Linked DNA regions of Homo sapiens: region 1 is linked to region 2. The links are contacts of gene promoters, found by promoter capture Hi-C in blood cells and fetal thymus (Javierre and others, 2016). All regions are on one chromosome and are shown on one strand. The core of a region is centred on a gene start or on the middle of the fragment in contact, and the rest is flanking DNA. Distances in the headings are between cores, read along the strand shown. Region 1 overlaps ATP13A3 (ATPase 13A3). Region 2 holds the start of TMEM44-AS1 (TMEM44 antisense RNA 1).

Region 1 (5,483 bases), core at 1,874-4,373, 170 kb after region 2:
ACATGTTTTAAATGATAATCTCATTTTGCCACACATAGTTTAGTCTCTTATTTGTGCATTATGTATTGGCTTTATTATCTTACAAAGTAGCTATCCATTTGGGCGACATACAAATGTCTGTGAAGGTCTGAGTCTTATTTTTTTAAGTGCTGATTATTTTCTGAAGGACTTTCACGGTTAAAGTTAATGGAGTTTAAACATAACATCACGTTGTGTATGTGAATCTTTTGGGTGCCCCGAACAATGTCTCATACTCCAGGAGATAACAGAGCACATACTTTATTCCATCAACTGAAGTGAAAGTATTCAAAACCAAATTTACAAATGACAGTATACCAGCTGTTATTGGATGCCTTTTTATATAAAGGAATTTCCTAATTTACTTGTTTTACTTTTGCTGTCTTTTCCAGATTTTTTTGTTTTTTCTGTGATTTTTTTATATATTTTTATATTATTCATCATGTTGTATCCAGTTGCCTCTGTTGACCAGGTTCTTCAGGTAAGACTTAAGCACATCATTTGTTTGGGGAAAAAGACTAACCTGTATACATTTCTTTTTTTCCAGGATCTCTTCTTTTTGTGTATTCTAAGATGCTGTTATATTAACCCAAAGATACTCTACAGAGAATAAAGAACCTAATGAAAATAGCAGCTTTTCTTAGCTATACCTGTTTAATCTCTGCTTCTGGTGCCGTTTTCATTTGTCTGCAAACAAATTAAATAGCCCTTGGTCTTTAAAAACATAAAAAAACGTTGATCCTGGTACCTGTTACTCCTCTCTTCTCTACCAGTCTACTTCTTGAGTAGTCTACACATGCTCCCTTTTGTGTTTTGGCCATTTAGTTCTTCAATTCTTTTCATTAAAAACTTTCTGAGTAATGAAATACTTGTTTTTCATACAAAAGAATATGCACACATATTTAAGTTGTTAGCCATAATTAAAAAATAGTAAAGAGATAACACCCTGAGTGTATCATCCAACCTGAAAAAATGAACATTACCTGAGCACAAGTCAGTGACAAAAGAAAACAAAAAAAAGGTAACGTTACCAATCAATAAGGCACTCTCATGTACCTGTTTTGATGATTTTCCCTGTCATTCCCTGTTTCATTATATACTTACCATATATGTTTGCAGTCATAAAAGATAGTTTTGTGTGCTCTTGAACTTCATGAAAATGTTATCTTGTTCCCTTTTTTCTGTGACTTGCATTCTCCCATCAACATTGTTTGTTGATACATTATTTTATTTTCATTGCTGTATAGTATACAATTGTAGGAATATATTAAATTCATTTCTCCATCCTCTGTTGGTAAATAATTACTGAACATATTGCTGCTATGAACATATTTTTACATGTCTTTCAGTGTATGGGGGTAAGTAATAGTGTATGAAAGAGTGGAGTAGGAGTGGTTTATCCCAGGTACAAGCAGTGAGAGAGTGGTGCGATGCTGTAGAGAATTTGCAAACAGTGATTAAGCCCAGTAGAAGTCCATCTGCTTTTTAAATATTGCCATGTGCTGGTAATTCCAGACACTTCCAGTGGTAATATACTCCTTCCACTACTACCCTTGGCAAACCATTAGGGACAAAAGTTTCCTCTGCTGTATTCTGGTATCATGATGAGCATGTACTCTTCAGCTACCACGTGCCAAGTTGTTTTCCAAAGTGATTGTATCAATCATCCATCAGTGTTTGACATCCTGTTGTTTCACATCATTGCCAACACTTGGTCTTGTCCAGTGGGTGTAAAATGTTATATCATGATGGTTTTACTTTGCTCATTAACTTTACTAATGGAGTTGAGCATTTTTTCATGTGTTTAATGGCCATTTTTATTTTCTCTGTGAACTGCCTATTCATGCCTTTGGCCAATTTTTTCTAGGATGTTGTCTTTTTTAAAAATTTTTAGGATGTTGTCTTTTTTTTAAAACTTAGTTTTCAGAGTTCTTAATGTATTATATTTGACTGTATAGTGATAAATATCTTCTCCCAGTTTGTGGCTTGTCTTTTTACTTTGTTTATAATATCTCTTTTTAAAAAACAAACTTATAGTCTGACATGGCAAATTTATTAATTTCTTTCTTTATTTGTTCCTCGTGTCTCAGTTTGGCGGACTTGTCCATCTCAAAGTTATAAAGATACTCTCACATTTAGTCTTTAATCCATCTGGAATTAATTTTATGTATAGCTTTTGAATAGGGATCAAATTTCTTTTTCTTTTTTTCTCTTACGCATACCCATTTGTTTCAGCAATTGCTTATTGAAGTTTGTCTTTGCCACTGATATTCAGTGATACCTTTGTCTTATATCAGTTTCCTTCCTTCCTTCCTTCATTCCTTCTTTCCTTCCTCCCCCGCCTCCCCTCTCCTCCCTCCCTCCCTCCCTCCCTTCCTTCCTTCCTTCCTTCCTTCCTTCCGTCCGTCCGTCTGTCTGTCACCCACGCTGCAGTGCAGTGGTATGATCTCAGCTCACTGTGGCCTCGACCTCCTGGGCTCAAGTGGTCCTCCCACCACAGCCTCCTGAGTAGCTGGGACCACAGTTGTGCACCACCACACCCAGCAAATTTTAAAATTTTTTGTAATAAAAATTATAAATGGGGTTTGTAATGGGGTTTCACTGTGTTGCCCAGTCTGACCCCCAACTCCTGGGCTCAAGTGATCCTCCTGCCTCAGCCTCCGAAAGTATTAAGATTACAGGCATGAGCCATGGCGCCTGGCCACAGTTTTCCATATATATGACTAATAGTGTTTTAGGGACTCCATATTTTGTTGTTTAGTTCTCTTTATTTGTGCCAGTACTATATTGTCCATGCTACCATGACTTTATAAGAAACCTTGATACATGCTTGGGTAGGACTCCTACCCCCCTCTCACATTGTTGTTCATCATGACCTTTTTGGCTGTGCTTGAGCTTTCCTTCTTCCTCCTTTTGTGTGTGTGTGTGTGTGTGTGTGTGTGTGTGTGTGTGTGTGTGTGTGTCAGAATCTGGCTCTGGTACCCAGGCTGGAGTGCAGCCCACTGCAAGCTTTGTCTCTCGGATTCAAGCGATTCTCCTGCCTCGGCCTCACGAGTAGCTGGCACCTGCCACAACGCCTGGCTCTAATTTTTTCTATTCTTAGTAGAGATGGGTTTTCACCATGTTGGCCAGGCTTGTCTTGAACTCTTGACCTCGGGTGAGCTCCCTGCCTTGGTGAGCCACTGTGCCCAGCTAAGCTTTTCTTCTTAACTTTTAAGTTTAGTTTGTCAAATACCAGGAAAAGCCCTTTCGGAACTATTAGAATTACACAGAGTTGATCAATAAATTTTGAGGGTGAATTCATTAGTTTTCCTTCCCACAAACAGTATCTCGTTCTGTTTCTGTCTTTTTGACCTAATGTCTTTCAGTAAGTCAGATAGTTTTCTCCCTAATGGTTTTTGTACATTTTTTGTTAGATTCTTAGAGTAATAACAGTTTTTGATCCCTTGATAAATTATAATTAAAATGACATTTTCTAATTTTTTATGTTGTTGAACTCAATACAGTTGTTTTAGATATTCATCTTGTTCCCAGAAGCCTTATCAGACTTTATTCAGACACATTTTAGATTGTCTAGGATTTTCTGTTTAGACAGGCATCATATATAAGTAATTACAAGCTGTAATTACTTACTTGACTCCCCAGCAGTTTGTTTCTGACATTTCACAGTCTTTATGTGCTTTTTCTGTATTTTTCATGTCTTAATATATTAGTTATAGTGATAGTGATATCCTTGTCTTACTCTTGTCTCTAAAGGACGTGTTCCTAATAGTTCACCATTAGATAAACTGTTTGCTGTATATTTCTAGTGTATAGTCTTTATCAGGTTAAGGAAGCTTCCTTAGTTGTACAGTGTTGTTAACATAAGTGGTTTTAAATTTTTATCTAATGCTTTTTTTTTTGAGATGGAGTCTCGCTCTGTCGCCCAGGCTGGAGTGCAGTGGCATGATCTCGGCTCACTGCAACCTCCACCTCCCGGGTTCAAGCAATTCTCCTGCCTCAGCCTCCCAAGTAGCTGGGATTACAGGCGTGTGCCACCATGCCTGGCTAAGTTTTTGTGTTCTTAGTAGAGATGGGATTTCACCATCTGGCCAGACTGGTATCGAACTCCTGACCTCACGATCCACCCACCGTGGCCTCCCAAAGTGCTGGGATTGCAGGTGTGAGCCACTGTGCCCAGCCAATCTAATGCTTTTTCTGCAGCTATTGAAATGGTCACACAGTTTTTCTCCCTGAAGAATGTGATGAATTATAGCTGATCAGTATTCAAATATTGAACTAACTTTGCATTTCTAGAATAAATTCAGTTTGGTCATGATGCACACTCTTTGAAATTTGGATTTAGGTTGCTATGATTTTGTTTTGGATTTTTGCCTCTGCATGAATGAGATCAGATTTAATTTTCTTTTCTTGTATGTTACGGACAGGTTTGATCTTAAAGTTATATAACTTAAACTTACAAAGTTTGTGAAATGAGTATTCCATTGCAGGGACTTTTTAGTAATTTGTTTAGTCCTGTTTTGCTGGATATTTAGGTTGGTTCCAGTGTTTTGCTATTAGAAACAATGTGGTATTGTAAGGAGAATGGTGTGAACCCGGGAGGCGGAGCTTGCAGTGAGCCAAGATCACACCACTGCACTCCAGGCTGGGCGACAGGGCGAGACTCCGTCTCAAAAAAAAAAAAAAAAAAAAAAAAAAGAATGTGGTATTGTAAATCCTTGCACACTTCAGTTACAGACAAATATATATTTATAGGCTAAATATGCAAAAGTGGAATTGCTTGGTCTGAGGGTATCTATAAATTTAATTTTCATAAATTCTGCATTATTGAACTTTGAAGATGTTCCAGGTTGTAGTCTTACCAGCAGTATATGTCTGTTTCCCTGCATATTTCATTGAGGGGTTTAGATAAGCACTTACAGTAAAAGAAGAAAACAAAATGCATTATATTTCTCTCCTGGTGCACATGTCTTCTGTTTCACAACCAACTTTTTCTTGAAATAGTACCACATTCAGCTCACCTCCCACACGTTCGTCAACTAATCTGGCATCTTCCCCTGCCAATCTACTGAAACGGCCCTCAGCAAGGCCGTTAGCCTCTTACTTGTTAAGTCCAATGGACTTTTCTCCCTAATGTATTTTTTTCCAGTCTTACTTGACTCCCCAGCAGTATTTGACGAGTTAGCCATGTCATCATTCTTAAGATACTCTCTTCTGAAATTTTGTGATGCTTTGCTGTCTTTTGGCCTTTTCTTAGCTCTGACTCTCCAGTCTCATTTTCCACTTTGGCTCCACTCCCTCTGCCCATTCCTTAAATGTTAGGGTTCCTTACATTTCTGTTCTTATTCCTCTGGTCACTCAATACATTCTGGTGATATCCCCTAGAGTCATGGCTTCACCTGTAATCACCATCTATATGTTAAAGGCTCCCAACCTTTATACCCTGAGCCTACCTCACTACTAAG
Region 2 (5,162 bases), core at 1-2,500:
AATGGCACGATCTCACTTCACTGCAACCTCCGCCTCCCAGGTTCAAGCGATTCTCCTGCCTCAGCCTCCCGAGTAGCTGGGATTACAGGCTCCCGCCACCATGCCTGGCTAATTTTTGTATTTTTAGTAGAGACGCTGTTGGCCAGCCTGATCTGGAACTCCTGACCTCAGGTGATCCACCTGCCTCAGCCTCCCAAAGCGCTGGGATTACACGAATGAGCCACCGCACCCAGCTAAAGATTTTCTTGAAAGCCTGTCTAGATCCTGAAGAACTAATCCCCTTATCTCCCTCCCTCAGTATGATGAAGAGATTTATGAGCATCATTTGAAGACACATTCATATTATGTTTCTTTCAAAGGGGTATGAGCTCCTAGAATAAGAAGAGGCACTGGGCCAAGGAGCATGGCTGGGCTCCAGTTCCCAGGTCTGATTCAGTGTGATCTTTGTCATTTCCTTTTCTATGTCACAGTTTCCTCATCTGTAAACTGAAAGTTGGGCCTGATTTTTTTCATTTTTTCTCTTTTATGCATGTGCCAATTTGTTTCCCACAGAATACTGACATCTTTATAAGCTCTCAAGAAAGACATTATAAAAACAAATTTCAGATATACTTTGAACATAGGCTTCATTATACGACATATACCTCTTTCTGTTTGGATTTTACTGTCCACTTAATATAAAAACCTGTATTAATCACTAAGGAAAAGGATAGAGGAGACTTAGAAATATCTCCAGAATAATTTTGCAACAATTCCAAGATTCTCTGCACTTCTTTTTCTGTCCCTTAATTGGCCTCCTCCACATTTTCCAACTATGGAGGTATTGCTCTACTCTCTTCGACTTTACATTGTTTTAGAATGCTTTTGCAAGGAGACTCTGCCTTGAATGAACCCAAGATATGGTGCAATGTTGAGGAAGATCTCCAAGTTTACACATGCCTGTACGATGGCCCAAAGGTCATCATCAGGTGAAAGGGACGACCTTAGAGATGAAAGAAGTTCAAGGAATGGTGCTACATTAAATGACTTAGCATTAGAAAGCATCTACTTTGCTTTTTCTTTCACCAACCCTGAAAGCCAAATAAGGCACTGGGCATTCAGGCCTTCTTTTGAGCAGAACACGTGATTACGCAGTTATTCTTCAAGAGCCTCTGTTAATCTGTCGCTTGGAGAACTCTGCATACTGTCCCAAATCCGTCTGAATTTTCCATCGGCTGCCAGTGTTCGTAGCAGAGGCCTCGGGTCTTCTCGTCCTCTCCTCAGGGTCTGGCAGCTGTCACTACCGTGGACTTCGGTCCAGTCCCCAGAGTCGGGGGCGCTGCCTTTCCCATTTCAGTTGCCAGGGGGTTCATCCACGATCGTGCCAGAGGGGCAGCGCGTGGTCTCCTCGAACTACGGGGGAGAGAGGAACCACTGTTGGCACGGGCCGGACTGAACGCCGGCTCCCACTGCCTACCTCCTCGGAGCTGCATCCGCCGACATCTTGCGCCCTACTCCCAGCACCAGCAGGGCACTTCCGGGAAGAACGGAATTGCGGTTCCGCGCGTGCGCACTCCGCAGCCACCGCCTCCCGCGAGGAGCGAGAGTCCCGCGGCCCCGCCCCGCCGCCGCAGCCGCCGCCGCAGCCGAAGGCCGGCGTTTCTGACCTCAGCCAGCGGCGACGCAGCCGGGAAAGAACTGTCGAGGGCGTCTCCGTAGTTCAGTTTTGGTTTGTTTATTTGAGACGGAGTCTCTGTCGCCCAGGCTGGAATGCAGTGGCGCGGTCTCTGCTGACTGCAGCCTCCGCCTGCCGAATTCAAGCGATTCTTCTGCGACTGAATAGCTGGGACTACAGGGGCGCGCCACGACGCCCGGCTAATTTTTGTATTTTTAGTGGAGACGGAGTTTCACCATGTTGGTCAGGCTGGTCTCGAACTCCTGACCTCGTGATCCGCCCGCCTCGGCCTCCCAAAGTGCTGGGATTACAGGCGTGAGCCACCACGCCTGGCCCACCCCACTCGGTTTTTAAGGAGATAATTACAAGGTTATTTTACGGTTCATAGTGTGTTTCAGACCTCCCAGAAGCCTAACGGTGTATTATAAACCATTCTTTTCTTTGTTTTTAAATGCATTAAAAACCTTTTTTGAGATAAAAATAGTGCAAGTACATGGTTTAAAAAAAGAAAATCAGATTGCACCAAAAGGTTTATGATGAAAAACAATAATGTTCTGTCCCTTTGCCTCCAAGAGACTCCTTTTTAAAATCTTTTGGGCTGGGCGCGGTGGCTCACGCCTGTAATCCCAACACTTTGGGAGGGTGAGGCGGGCGGATCATCTGAGGTCAGGAGTTTGAGATCAGTCTGGCCAACATGGTGAAACCCCGTCCCTACCAAAAATACAAAAAGTAGCCGGGCGTGGTGGTGGGCGCCTGTAGTCTCAGCTACTTGGGAGGCTGAGGCAGGAGAATCGTTTGAACCGGCGAGGCAGAGGCTGCAGTGAGCTGAGACCGCGCCACTGCACTCCAGCCTAGGCAACAGGAGCAAAATTCTGTCTCAAAAAAAAAAAAAACTTTTATACCTTCTAGTAGTTGTCTCCATTAGGTTTGATTTGGAACATGCTTTCCAGCTACAGGGTTCTTAAGATCATACTTGCTTTTCCTGAGCTGCATCATCTTCAGCTTCCATTATACAGGCTGACGAGGCTCAGTAGCACGGCAGGGCCACTGGCGTATTGAGAAATGGATGGTCACCGTCTTCGCATCCGAGGGTTGTGTGGCGTGCCTCGCGCCAGGAACTCCTTGGCCACTCCGCAGTTTCCTAGCTAGAACCCGGCTTCTGAGCCCAGCACGCTCCAACAGCAGCCTGCCGCGGTCCACGCCTCTGCTCCGGACTTGACCTTTCCCTTCCGGCCTTCCTCCTACAGGTGTCTTGGCACCTGGAATCTCCAGAGGAAATCTGAGGGATTCTCTAAACCCACAGCTGGAACAAGGGACGTCATACACGGCGGCCACCACCATCTTTCCCAAGGACAGCATGGCCATGGATGAAAAGGGCCATTTCATGGGCCTTACCTTCTGCTAGCCAGTATAGCCTAAAGCCCTGATACTCAAATGTAGACTCTTAGGCTCCACCCGGAGGATTCCCTAGGTCTGGGCAGGGCTTGGGAAGCTTAGCAGGCTCCTCAGGTGATTCTGCTACAGATGGTCCAGGACCAGTCTCTGAAAAACACTGTCCTCGGGAAATTGCTTTTATGTATTTACTTTTTCCATCTCTTCTTGGTATTTTGTTATCATTTTCAAATACAGAGACGGAGTCTCACTATGATGCCCAGGCTGGTTCCGAACTCCTGGGCTCCAGAGATCCTCCTGCCTTGGTCCCCCAAAGTACTGGGATTACAGGCACAAGCCACCACTCCAGCCGGGAAATTACTTTTAAAACAGATCTATTTGTATGAGATGTTCTCACAAAACTACTTAGAATAGCAAACAAACAAAAAAAAAGTGATAAAGCTCCCAAACCCCACTGTTGTGCAGAATTAAACATACTTTTTTTTTTTTTTTTTTGAGATGGAGTCTGTCTCTGTTGCCCAAGCTGGAATGCAGTGGTGCCATCTCAGCTCATTGCAACCTCTGCCTCCTGGGTTCAGGCGATTCTCCTGCCTCAGCTTCCCGAGTAGCTGGGACTACAGGCGCGTGCCACCATGACTGGCTACATTTTGTATTTTTAGTGGAGACGGGGTTCGCCATGTTGGCCAGGCTGGTCTTGAACTTCTGACCCCAAGTGATCCACCTTCCTCGGCCTCCCAAAGCGCTGGGACTACAGGCATGATCCACCACACCTGGCCCAAACATTATGCTTTAATGAAGAAATGACATTTTGCCATTAAACCTAAAATATCACAGAACCATGGATTGAAGAACAGACATGAATTACCTTGAAATCATCTACTGCAGTGCCTGAGTGGCTTTGCCTGTTCTCACAGCATGAATTCTCAGTTCACACACAGTAAAAAAAAAAAAAAAAAAATTATGAAAGATAATGTCAGCTAATAGGCCGGGTGCAGTGGCTCACCCCTGTAATCCCAGTACTTTGGGAGGCCAAGTGGGGGCAGATTACCTGAGGTCAGGAGTTCAAGACCAGCCTGGCCAACATGGTGAATACCCCGTCTCTACTAAAAATACAAAAATTAGACACACGCCTGTAATCCCAGCTACTCGGGAGGCTAAGGCAGGAGAATTGCTTGAATCCAGAAGGCGGAGGTTGCAGTGATCACTGCACTCCAGCCTGGGCAACAGAGCAAAACTCTGTCTCAAAAAAAAAACAAAACCATAATGTAAACTAGTAAAGGTAGAACACAAGAGAGCTTGAGCCACCATTCACAATTATAAGAAAAATTTTGATAGATCAGAAAAGTCTTAGAAGTCATTAGATTCTGTTGTAAAAAGATTATGTGGATTTTTGTAGTAGATGTTTCTTGACTGTGGAAATACTTAAATACATCTTAAGAGAACTGTTCTAGTTTAAAGGAGTCTGCAGTGGGGATGGGGTGGGAGAGCTATATGGGATTACTGGGACAATTGAGCAAATTTGAATATGTACAGTGTATTAGCTAACTTTATTGTTTCCTTTCTTAATAATATTATGGTTGCACAGGAGAACGCCCCTTTGGATATACATGCTGAACTACTTAGGAGTGAAGCACCGTGATTTGGCAACTGACTTTTATTTTTTATTTTTTATTTTTATTTTTTGAGACAGAGTCTCGCTCTCTCGCCCAGGCTGGAGTGCAGTGGCATGATCTCGGCTTACTGCAAGCTCCGCCTCCCGGGTTCACACCATTCTCCTGCCTCAGCCTCCTGAGTAGCTGGGACTACAGGCGCCTGCCACCATGCCTGGCTAATTTTTTTTTGTATTTTTAGTAGAGACGGGGTTTCACCATGGTCTCGATCTCCTGACCTCGTGATCCTCCCGCCTTGGCCTCCCAAAGTGCTGGGATTACAGGTGTGAGCCACCGCACCTGGCCCCAAGCAACTGACTTTTAAATATTTCAGCAGAAAAAAATTATAAATTTTTCAGGTAGTTGGAGAGAGACAAAGCAAACGGAAAAACGGGAACAATGGATTAATCTAGGCGAATAGCATAAACATGTTCGTTATTCTTTCATCTTTTCTGTAGGTTGGAAGT

Evidence for each region. The method cuts DNA at HindIII sites, captures the fragments that hold promoters and counts their contacts. A CHiCAGO score of 5 or more calls a contact.
Region 1: a contact is called between a fragment that was not itself captured here and the fragment with the promoter of TMEM44-AS1 in region 2, in 1 of 17 cell types (erythroblasts). The highest score is 5.2, in erythroblasts.

Annotation. Positions count from the first base shown.
Region 1 is chr3:194,414,895-194,420,377 of GRCh38, reverse strand. ATP13A3 (ATPase 13A3) reads left to right here. Exons shown (of 34, transcript NM_001367549.1): 31 at 411-499. Among named protein-coding and RNA genes, the nearest start is that of GP5, 18 kb to the right of the region's middle. The HindIII fragment of the contact is 188 bases long and covers 3,030-3,217 here.
Region 2 is chr3:194,580,356-194,585,517 of GRCh38, reverse strand. TMEM44-AS1 (TMEM44 antisense RNA 1) reads right to left here and starts at 1,250. Exons shown (of 3, transcript NR_047575.1): 1 at 1,070-1,250. RefSeq lists enhancers at 1,234-1,283, 1,319-1,984 and a silencer at 1,474-1,733. The HindIII fragment of the contact is 5,912 bases long and covers 1-3,148 here.